Linked DNA regions of Homo sapiens: region 2 is linked to region 1. Evidence: promoter capture Hi-C in 16 types of primary human blood cells and fetal thymus (Javierre and others, 2016). All regions are on one chromosome and are shown on one strand. Each heading gives the region's core, a stretch centred on a gene start or on the middle of the fragment in contact. The rest is flanking DNA. Distances are from core to core; before and after follow the strand shown. Region 1 holds the start of PAX6-AS1 (PAX6 antisense RNA 1). Region 2 holds the start of LOC124902652 (a long non-coding RNA gene).

Region 1 (4,985 bases), core at 85-2,584:
TCAGATCTGCCACTTCCCCTGCCGAGCGGCGGTGAGAAGTGTGGGAACCGGCGCTGCCAGGCTCACCTGCCTCCCCGCCCTCCGCTCCCAGGTAACCGCCCGGGCTCCGGCCCCGGCCCGGCTCGGGGCCCGCGGGGCCTCTCCGCTGCCAGCGACTGCTGTCCCCAAATCAAAGCCCGCCCCAAGTGGCCCCGGGGCTTGATTTTTGCTTTTAAAAGGAGGCATACAAAGATGGAAGCGAGTTACTGAGGGAGGGATAGGAAGGGGGGTGGAGGAGGGACTTGTCTTTGCCGAGTGTGCTCTTCTGCAAAAGTAGCAAAATGTTCCACTCCTAAGAGTGGACTTCCAGTCCGGCCCTGAGCTGGGAGTAGGGGGCGGGAGTCTGCTGCTGCTGTCTGCTAAAGCCACTCGCGACCGCGAAAAATGCAGGAGGTGGGGACGCACTTTGCATCCAGACCTCCTCTGCATCGCAGTTCACGACATCCACGCTTGGGAAAGTCCGTACCCGCGCCTGGAGCGCTTAAAGACACCCTGCCGCGGGTCGGGCGAGGTGCAGCAGAAGTTTCCCGCGGTTGCAAAGTGCAGATGGCTGGACCGCAACAAAGTCTAGAGATGGGGTTCGTTTCTCAGAAAGACGCGGAGTACGAAAGAATGCGGCCGACAGAGCTGGGCAGCGCGTAAAGCTCCCAGCGTGTGATTTGAGCTTCACTTCGGAAGACCTAATAATTAGCGATTCTCACTGAGCTAGAACGCGGGCTCCGGTTACTGCGGGCGCTGCGCTGGCTGCCTCGGCGGGAAGCGCGCGGGCGCCATGGGAGCCGGGCCGCCAAGCCCGGGAAAGAGAAGCGCCCACCACCCTGCGGCCCTTGGAGGGCCAGAGCCGGGGCCCGGAAGTGTCCCCTTAGTGAGTCAGGGAAGGGACGACCCAAACTTAGACTAACTTGTGGTTCAGCCGGGCGAAAGTCCTGGGAGCCCGGCCCTAAAAGCAGCTGGAGACGCCCAGGCCGGCTTAGGCGGGGCACCCAAGAACCCCGCCCGGGAGTTTGGGGCGGCCTCTGGGCCAGGCCCCGGCTAGCCCCCAACCCCCACTCCCACTCGCGCTCCTGCGCCCCCTTTCTAGGTCTTCTGGGAGCACCTTCGGAGCTCAGTCACCTGTGACAGGTGTTGGGACCTCCGCCCGACTCCGAGCGGTGGCGCCCCCTGCTCACCTCACCTGGAAACGGGGGACGAGCGCAGTGGCAGTCCGGCCGCACGCCTTACCTGGGCCGGGATCCTCTCCTCCGCGGGTTCCTCTCCCTGGAGCTGGGCGGCGAGCAGGTCGCCTGCTTCGCAGTGGGAAGTGGACCTTCTCCTCCAGTCATAAATCAAACCCAGCCATCCTCGGGCCTCCTCCCTCATTAGAGATGTTTATTGGAGATCGTGTTTATTCGGCTGTCACGGCGAGAAAACGCGGTGACATAATTACCTCTGACCAGAGTCCTCGCTCCGCGCCCAGGGCGAGCCGAGGACCTCCTCTGTCGCCTTCTCATGCCCGTGCCCTTCGTGATCGGAGGGCGCCCGTGATAGGCTTGTCTTTTTTTCCTCAGACCCTCTCATAGAATTTGGATGACTGGAATTACTATTCAGATTTCCCCAGGGCCCGGAGTTTATTTATTTATTTTAGAATTGGAAAGGAAAACCGAAGGGAACCCAACGCCCCTCCGGGGCAGAAGGGGGCAGCGCGCGCGAGGCGGAAGGACAGTCACTCTCGCTGCACAAACTTTCCCGCGGGCCGCGCCGCGCGTGCAGGGGCTGGACGCCACCCGGCGCCAGAGCCGGGCCTGAGGAGCGGGGTCTGGCCGGGAACGAGGGCTGCCAGCCTGGGTGGTGTCATTTGTTGCTTCATTTTTCATTCCCTTTCCTCTCGTGAGGAATCAGAGGCATCGGGCCGCGCGGGCTGAGAATTCTTAAATTCTCCCCGGCCGCATTCGGCTGAGCCAACCCGCAGTTCCTGTCAGCCCCTCTGTCCCCCGGGCAGCGGTTTTCCCCGCTAGCCAGGTTTGGAAGTCACCCTCTGTGAGACTGGGTTAGGAAGTGACGAAAAGCGCCGAATTGTTTTCAAATTGAAAATACTTTTTTTTTTTTTTTTGGAGATAGCGCTGACAAATATATGGGATCCCGGCTTTTGATCCCTGGCTGCCGCCTCTGTTCTCCTGTCGCTAATAAAACTCGCATTGAGCCCCTTAGTGCCTTGATTAACAGGCAGATTAACTCTTACTGGGGTTGGGAACAGCTTGTCCTAATCAATGTCATTTTAAAAGCCCGTCAGGATGCGCTTAGCTTCGGTTCCCTGGATGCTTGAGCGAGCCAGCCATGACATTTGCTCCCTCCCCCTCCCCAGCCTCAAATCCCCCAGTAAAGCCCCCAGTTCCCGCCTGCCTGTTCCCAGGTCTACAACGGGACAAATCGCAGGACCGGGTCGTTGGCCTTTAGAATAGGCAGCGGTTTAGAGAGGGGATATCCAGGGAGAAGGGACTGAGGTGGCCTTGACTTGCTTGCTTTTCCTTTGAAGCTGAACTCTTGCCTCTTGGGGGCAGAGGTTACAGGGAAAAGAGAGATGGGGGGATCGTCACAGGGTGATGAAATGGAAAGCAAACTTTTCTAGGAACCCTATTTGCAAAAATCGGAGAGTGCCGCTGATTTCAGTTGTCCTACATGTCAGGAGTTTTAAACCTAACTCCTATCTGGACAACAGCATGGAGGGACTGGGAGGCAAAGCCTTGGGAGTCTGACCCGCTGGGCTGCTAGGAATCCCTTTGCTGGGAGACTCCACTGGACAATGTTATTTTAAAGGTATTTTGGGGGTGGGCAGGGAGAAGACAGAGAGAGAAAGAGAGAGAGAGAGAGAGAGAGAGAGAGAGAGAGAGAGACAGGCTGGCCTCCCAGAGCGAACGGAAGAGGACTGAGGACTGAACCCAGGGAGCCCCTAGCACTGGCCATTTGGCAGGAGGCGAGGAAGGGCGAGGGCACCGCGGCTTCCCCCCAAGCCGAGCAGTGGCCACAGCCTGAAGGTGCCACGGGGCGGCTCTGGGATCTTCTTGGCTTTTCTAGGCTCTGGGCTCGGCGAGGCTGCCGGGTTAGCGGGAACCGGCAGGTTGCTGGAGAAAGGAGAGGGACAAAGGCCTGGAAGTGGGGGAGGCACCAGGGACTGGGCGGCCGGGATGGGAGCCTTTGCCTTTAGGGCTCACTGGACCCGTTTGCCAGCTCCGCGGACAAGGGATCCCACCTTCCCAGGGTCTGCAAAAAGAGAGACGTTTGGGGCACTACAAAGTGACGCAGGTGTCTGCCAAGACTTTCCTTCTCCAAAAAATGCCAGTCTTCACCCTTTCCAGCGCGCCGGCGCTGCGCCTCTGCTTGACCGGGGAAAGAGAGAGTTTGGAGGTGTCAGAACTGTCAGAACTCCGGATGGGAGGCTCTTGGTTCTGAAGCTGGGAGCTGGAGGCACTTCCCCCCAGAAGTGGGCACTTCTTTGCCTCCCCGAAGGCCTGATGGGGTGGGCACAGGGGAATGCCAGGGATCGGTGCGGGTGAGATGCTTGCCTCACCTCATGTTGACGCATCAATACTGGCTAGAAGCTCTGGGCAGGCTCTGGCGAGCCACGGTCCCCCAGCGGGACTCCCTCCACGCAGACAGCCCCGCTACCGGGTGGGACGACCCCGGCGGCCCCCGCGGGAACGCACCCGCCGGCCTGAGAGGTCCTCCCTCTGGCCACAGGGGGCGGAGGGTAGGGGGGAACAGGGGCCTGTGGGGAGGCGGGGAAAGGAGACAGAACCTAAAGCGCAATCCCCGCCGCCCCCCCGCGTCTTGGAGGGCAGCAAGTGGGCCTCGGGCGTGTTGGTAGCCGCAATTAAAATGGCGACCTGCGAGTTGTCTCGGTTTTGTACACACCTCTGGCAACCGCGCCCGCACCTCAGTCTCGGCCCCCACACCCCTAGGCCGCTTCGCCCCCAGAGCCGGTACTTGGCAGAGGGAGTGAGGCTCCCCACGAGGTAGAACAGCACCCCCACCTTCCTTGAGACCAGTCCAGAGAGAACGAGGAAATCTCACTCTCACCCCTCTCTCCTTAAACTTTGAAAACTCGGCCTCATTCTGGGGTTGAACTCCCCTCCCCAAATATTGACACATGGGAAGCAGCCAAGTCCTTTTTGTTTTTTGTTTGTGCGGAGGAGTTTCCAGGAGTCTTTCCCGGAGCCCCCTTCCCCACCCAATGACGTCAGTGGCATTCACTCCTCGCTCCTTGCCTTTTCTGATTTTTTGTTAAAACTTTTCTCCGCAGCGAGATGGGGGTTGGAGGGGTGGGAGAAGGAGCTGATTCAAAGAGCCAGTGCCCTGGGGGGAAATAGCAACAAGATTACGGCTGCTTCTTTCCGAGGCAAAGCTTAAGAAGGTGCTAATCCACTCGGTCGCTAATTGAGAGGTTGTAAAAATGATACTCGCCTCCAGTTCGGACAGAATCACTTCCCCCCCCCCCGCCCCCCCGCAAGTCCCTCGCTCATGCACAGCGGACTTGAGTCTTGAGTCCAAGCTTCTTTAATGCTCGCTTGGAAAGTAAAAGGAGAGAGAAAGAGAAAGCCGACTTTCGCTGGTCTGGGACTCAGGGCCGCGGCCCCACTTGCCGGCATCCTCCGAAAGTCGCGCTCCTGCGAAATGAAACCTCGCCCAGGAGGCCGCGGACCTGGACACCCGGCGCCACCTCCTTCACCTCTGACCCAGGTTTCCTCCCGGCGCTGCGAGCTCCCGGGGAAGGGTTAGAGCCGGCAGCCCTCCCCAGCCCGGGGAGGGGAGAGGGTTATGCGACCCCACCTCTGGCTAGGGCCGGGGAGGCCTTTGCTTCCCGGGAGCCCTGCCCGGGCTCCTTGGTCGCAGGGCTGCTGGGTCCCAGGCAGGAACGAGAGGGTGAGGCCCACATGTGGCCCGGCGGCCCAGGGCGGCTTGCAGCGTCCTCA
Region 2 (5,769 bases), core at 1,911-4,410, 4.1 Mb after region 1:
AGCCTGTACCCCAAGACCTCTGAGAATGGTATGTACCAGCTGTCCCAGTCTTAGGGCAGCATCTGCTGGCTAATTCATGGATGGACAAAAAGTGGCAGTTTGTGGGCAATTTGAGCAGTCCTTTCATTTGGCGAGAACTGTTGTGTTGATGACTGTGAGGGTTTCTGAAATCCTTTCATAAGGACCCATCTCAGGTCTCCAGGAGCCTGGCAAATCTAGAACTACTCCTAATGAGAACCAGGAAGCTTTTGTATACAGATATTTTATCTGGAGCCTAAGATAAGCCTGTTTGACTTTGGAAACATTTCTAGAGAAGCATGAACTCAACACTAGACTTACTGCTAATAATAATAACCCAGTACCAATGGGGGCTGCAATGAACAGAGGTCCATGCACATAATTGGGAAGTAAAACTTATTTTCCATAAGGAAGGCATTTCTGGGATGGGAGAGGGAGGACCTTGAAGCAGCCACTGAATGCTTATGTTCTGTTGCTTCTAATCATCCTATCGTGTAAGTAAGATTTTTCTACATAAGCAAGCAAGAATGATATTCAAACAAAGCACTTTTGACTGGAATAAAGAAACTGGAAATTGGAAAGGGCTGGGTGGTCTGAAACTTAAGAGCTATCCACCATCTTCTGCAGCATCGCTGTGCCTCATCCCTGCAGTCAATAGCGCCACGGCCAGGGCCTGTGACGCCGTTGGTGGGCTCCCCTTGGTGGGAACTCAGAGCGAGTAAAATCATGGTGTCAGTGCCAAAACGACGAAACCTGAAATGCGTCTGGGGACTTCCCAGGGCACTAGCGCTCCTCAGAGCGACGGACATCTCCATAACAACTGGTCTACATTCATCCCTGGTTCTTCTGCTCTGCTGTGCTAGCGATGGCTGAGGGTAGGCAAAGGGCAGCTTCAGTGGAAAGATACCTTGCGTTAGCGCCTCCCTAGGCTGGGGGACGTTGCCAAAGCTCGAGTTATTGCCTATTTCCCGAGATTTCCGGAGTCGTCCCCACATCTCCCGCGGAGAGCGGCGCCCCTCCGCCCCCCCTCCCGCCTCCCCCTCTATTAGACACTCCAAGGGGGTAGTTTGTTTCATTGTGCTTTTTTTCCTCTTCTCAAAGTTCATCCTTTCGCCTCCAAGTTACTTTCCGCCAACACGTGACCTCTTCGCTTCCCAGCTTGCGCAGCCACTGGTGGGGAAGCGCGGGCGCTAACCGCAGGGCTTCCTGGGAGAGCCCCCTCCGAGGTTCGCCACCCCAGCCCTGGCTCCCGCCGCGCTCACCCCGGCACCCCGGCGGCGGGGCAGCCCCCGCAGGATGAGGAAGCGGCTCCGGGGAAGCAGCACCGAGCAGCAGCGGAGCGCCCAACCTGCCGCCTCCCCTCCCGTCCCTGCCTTGGCCCGCGGCTCCGCTCTCCGCGGCTCGCCTTCCGACCTAGCTGCGCACCGGGGCTGTTAACTCACATTTGGGAAGCCATAACCCATTAGAGCAAACGCAGTCATAACTTCATTCAACTCAGCCGCTCGAGAGCTCGGCTTACACAGGTTCCTGTGGGCAACTAGTGGCTCGCCTTGGTGCCTCTCGCCTAGTCATCAGTACCTAAGAGGAAAAGGGAAAGTTGTTGGGCTGGTTCGCGCTTCGACGCATGCAGATGTTCCCAAGGACAAGTCACTTACTCGCCCCCCTCCCCCCAGTCCCCATTTGATCATCACTCACGACCTCATCGGCTGGAGACCCTTAGTCATGATGGGGGAGGGGGAGGGGCACGAACTTTTCTAAGAAGTTTCCTTTTTTTACCCAGAGAGTCACAGTGAGTCGGTCACGTAAACAGCGAGGTTAGTCGTCGCCGTTGCCGCCCCCCACCCCCTCCCTGCTGCGCTTTTCTGGTATTATTATTAAAGCGGTAGTCTGCCGGCGCTGATAAGCAACAAGTTCCCCAGCGGTCTTCCCGCCCTAGCCTGACAAGGCGAAGGTTTTCTTACCTGGCGACAGGGAAATCTCCCGAGCCGAATTCAGCTTCGCCGGAGCCCCAGGTGTGACCTGCGTAGTGGGCAAGGGAGCGGTGTGCAGGCTGAGTTTTTTTTTTTACAGGGGTACCCTGAAACTCCTCACTTTCTCTGGGAACTTTCAGTGCCAGGACCCAGTAACGGGCGGTTAGAAGGCAGCCCTAGGAAACACCTGCTACATAGCAGGGCAGTTGGGCAATCATTGGTAACCTCGCTCATTCATTAGAATCACGTAAGAACTCAAAAGGAAACGTGTCTCTCGGAGTGAGGGCGTTTGCGTAAATCTATAGGTTTTTCGACATCGATGCCAGTTGCTTTGTCTTCTGTAGTCGCCAAGGTGGTTGAGAGTTTAAGCTTGCGGATATTGCAAAGGGTTATTAGATTCATAAGTCACACCAAGTGGTGGGCGATCCACTGAGCAAAGCCGAACTTCTCACATGATGACTTCAAACAAGACACATTACCTTCCAGCATCTGTTGGGGAGACGAGATTTTAAGACACTTGAGTCTCCAGGACAGCAAAGGCACAATGGTGAGTAGCAATAAAACCTGCATTATAATTGAAAAATCTTGACATGTTGCTTAACAACGGGCATATCACGGCTCTTCCTAGCACTTCACACGCCAAAGAACAGCAGCTACTCAGGCCAGGGGAATCGGGTTTTTACACAGTGCAACTTTAATTGGAATCATTTGAGATTTGACACAGCTATGTGGAACTGCGTGGAACAAACTTGGAGCTGGGTGGGGGGGTGTGTGTTATATTGGTTGTTCAAGGCTGATGCTTGTCTCTCAGCAGTCTTGCATTCTATTCTTTTCCTTAATGTGTATGGTGTATGATCATATTCTATGATTTATATGTGGGCATGTAATTGACATTTGCAAGGGGGTTAATTTCCATCTAAAAACAATAATGCTGTTAGAGGTTGGGGTTAGGGGGTGGAGTGGGGGTAAGGGTGGGGTAAAGACTGGGAGTTTAGGTGTAGATGGGGGGTGGGGTTGGGGGGAGAGAAATAAGTCAGAAGTGCATATCACCGGTAATGGGTAATCCTCTCGTAGAAGAAAAGGTTCTCATCAACATGTGATCAACTATTAACAGGATGGCTTTGGCAAAGCCATCCGCACGTGACAAACCGTAAGGAAGTGGAAGAAACCGTCTAGAGCAATATCAAGTATCACTTAATTAGAGATTTTTAAGCCTTTTCCTCCTGCTGTGCCGGGTGTGTAATCCGGGCGATAGGAGTCCATTCAGCACCTTGGACAGAGCCAACGGATTTGTCCGAGGTGGCGGTACCCCCAGGTAGTCTTCTTGGCCCCGCTGTAAAGCCAACCCTGTGTCGCCCTTAAAAAGCGTCTTTTCTGAGGTTCGGCTCACACTGAGATCGGGGCTGGAGAGAGAGTCAGATTTTGGAGCGGAGCGTTTGGAAAGCGAGCCCCAGTTTGGTCCCCTCATTGAGCTCGCTGAAGTTGGCTTCCTAGCGGTGTAGGCTGGAATAGACTCTTGGCAAGCTCCGGGTTGGTATACTGGGTTAACTTTGGGAAATGCAAGTGTTTATCTCCAGGATCTAGCCACCGGGGTGGTGTAAGCCGCAAAGAAGGTAAGCACCAGGGCGGGGACCCCTTGCATCCCCAATTCTTGAGCTATTTTGATACTGTCTTCCGGAGAGGACGCGTGGTGGAGGGGAGGAGGTAGAGGGAGAGCATGAGAGGGGGTTGTTTCTTGGTATTTGCCCAGTTTGAATTGCCCTAGGTGAGAACCCTGGGGCAAAGGGAGAAAGAAAAAAAAGAAACTCAGTCTTCCTGCGGATATAATGAGTTTAGTTAACTTGGACCTGCAAATGTCTGATTCAAATGTAAGATTTATCTCTCTTTTTCTCCTCTTCACCTCCCTCTTTTCCGTTCTCTTTGCTGGTGTGTGTGTGTGTGTGTACAGTAGATTCATTACTAATTATGAAGCTTTTGCAAAACATTCGAATTCCTAAAATTTGACTTTGTAGCATTTAGAATCAGGCGGTGGAGGTGGTGTGCGGTGGGGAGAGGAGGTGGAGGTTGGGAAGAGGGAAGGAGGTAAAGCTAAACCTCCAACACAAAAAAATGAATCAAGGTAATTTCAGCTCTTCTAGTGAGAAGGATTCATTCTCTCTGTATCCCTCCCTCCCTCTCTTTCCCCCTCCCTCCCTCCTTCCCGCCCCCCTTCTTCCACCCCGCCCCCTCCTCCAGCCTCCATCCCTCCCTCATTCTATCTCTTCCTCTCCGTCGCCCTCGCTCCTCGCTGGATGCTTCTTTCTGGGTTTTCTTTTTTTTTTCCCTTCTGTCCTCCCTCCCCGCGAGTTTCGGGCGCTGGCTTAGAGGGTTCCCGCTTTCTCAAGGGAAGGGGAGCTGCCGAGACCGCGCTCCGCTCCCCAGCCGGGCCGGATGCCTCACTGAGCCCAGGTCCGAGTCAGTCGGGGTAACTCAGGGAAAGGGGAGCCTCCGCCTGGGAGTAGAAGGTCCTTTCCGGACCGAAGAGCCAGAGAGCGGGCCGGGCGAGGGGGCCTGGGCGGCTGGAGGCGGTGGAGAAGAACACTTTTAGCTCCGTGCGGCGGCTGGACAGAGCCACCAATCAGCTGGACGCGCAGACCGCCCTGCCAGGGCGAGGTTGCGTCCGGAGGCGCCGGTGGAGGGCGGCCGGCTAGTCGCTGAGCCGCCGCCGCCACCCGGGTGGGCAGGGGACTGGCGGTGGGTGGAGGTGAGGGGCTTGGCGGGTGAGATAGAAGCGGCGCGGAGCCGCCCAGACCTGTGTTCTACCTCTCCCGCCCCCGCCTGCACCCCCGGGGGACAGCGAACTGCCGGAACGCGCGGCTGCGTTATCCTCTTGCCACTCTTCAGGGAGCTCAGGGACTTAGGCGCCCCTGGGCGGGGGCCACCAGGCTCTCCACACTCCTATAACCCTCACCCCCACCCCCTTCTCAGGCCTTTTGTTCCGGCCACAGAGCCAAGCCCGGTGGCAGTTTTCGCCCCAGGGTTTGGTCGTTCTGGACTCCTCCCCCGATCAGCTCTTCTTAATTAAAAGGCAAGAGCTTGGGGTAGGGGTGAGGGGAACGTAGGAAAAATCTGTTTCCGAAACTCAAGACCACTGTTTTAACGAACGAAAGAAAGAATCCCAACTCTGCGCAGGTGGATTCATAGGCGAAGCGAGGATATTGTGGAAATTCAGAAGGAAAAGATAAAAAACAGGCGCTAGGATCAGATGACGGTGATAGGCTGCTCGGCACACAAAGGGAGCGTAGGGCAGGGTTTACGGAGCAAGCCTGCAGCGAATGGGGCACAGATTGTTCCGAGATCCAGTCGTTTTCTCAGTCAGATCTACGCGAAGGGAGGGGAGGGGAGGGGCGGGCAGGGGAGCGTGGCGGGAGGGGCTGAGCTTGGGGGCGGGGGGATTTCTGATCAGTCTGATGCAATTCCAAGCGTGCTGCAAAGGAACTCCAAGGCGCCCGCATCACCATCGCCACCCACCCTTCCCAGATGGTGCTGTTTTAAATACGGATCTGCAGGGCTGAACGCAGAACTGGGAGATTTATTGCAAAATCCCGGGAGGGGCGGGGGGGGGTGGTGTGCGGAACGGGGAATGGAGGAGCAGAATTTAAAGGTGCAACGCTTGCTTTTTCCAATCAGGCGGCAACCGGCCGGAATTATTATTTTTTTCTTTCTGTCTGCTTGTCTCTGGATTCTAATTCACCAAGAAAGAGGTGTAAATATTGTGACATTTTGAGGCAGCTTGATGGAT

What was found. The method cuts DNA at HindIII sites, captures the fragments that hold promoters and counts their contacts. A CHiCAGO score of 5 or more calls a contact.
Region 2: a fragment that was not itself captured here is called in contact with the fragment with the promoter of PAX6-AS1 in region 1 in 1 of 17 cell types (total B cells); the score reaches 5.7 in total B cells.

Annotation. Positions count from the first base shown.
Region 1 is chr11:31,812,915-31,817,899 of GRCh38, reverse strand. It overlaps PAX6-AS1 (PAX6 antisense RNA 1), which reads right to left and starts at 1,334. Exons shown (of 3, transcript NR_033971.1): 1 at 1,261-1,334. It also overlaps a transcript of PAX6 not described here. RefSeq lists enhancers at 1-22, 1,544-2,305, 4,367-4,985, a promoter at 1-97 and a silencer at 3,269-3,523. The HindIII fragment of the contact is 5,434 bases long and covers 1-4,419 here.
Region 2 is chr11:27,718,178-27,723,946 of GRCh38, reverse strand. It overlaps LOC124902652 (a long non-coding RNA gene), which reads right to left and starts at 1,705. Exons shown (of 2, transcript XR_007062633.1): 1 at 1,461-1,705. It also overlaps a transcript of BDNF not described here. RefSeq lists an enhancer at 1,459-1,967. The HindIII fragment of the contact is 1,602 bases long and covers 2,360-3,961 here.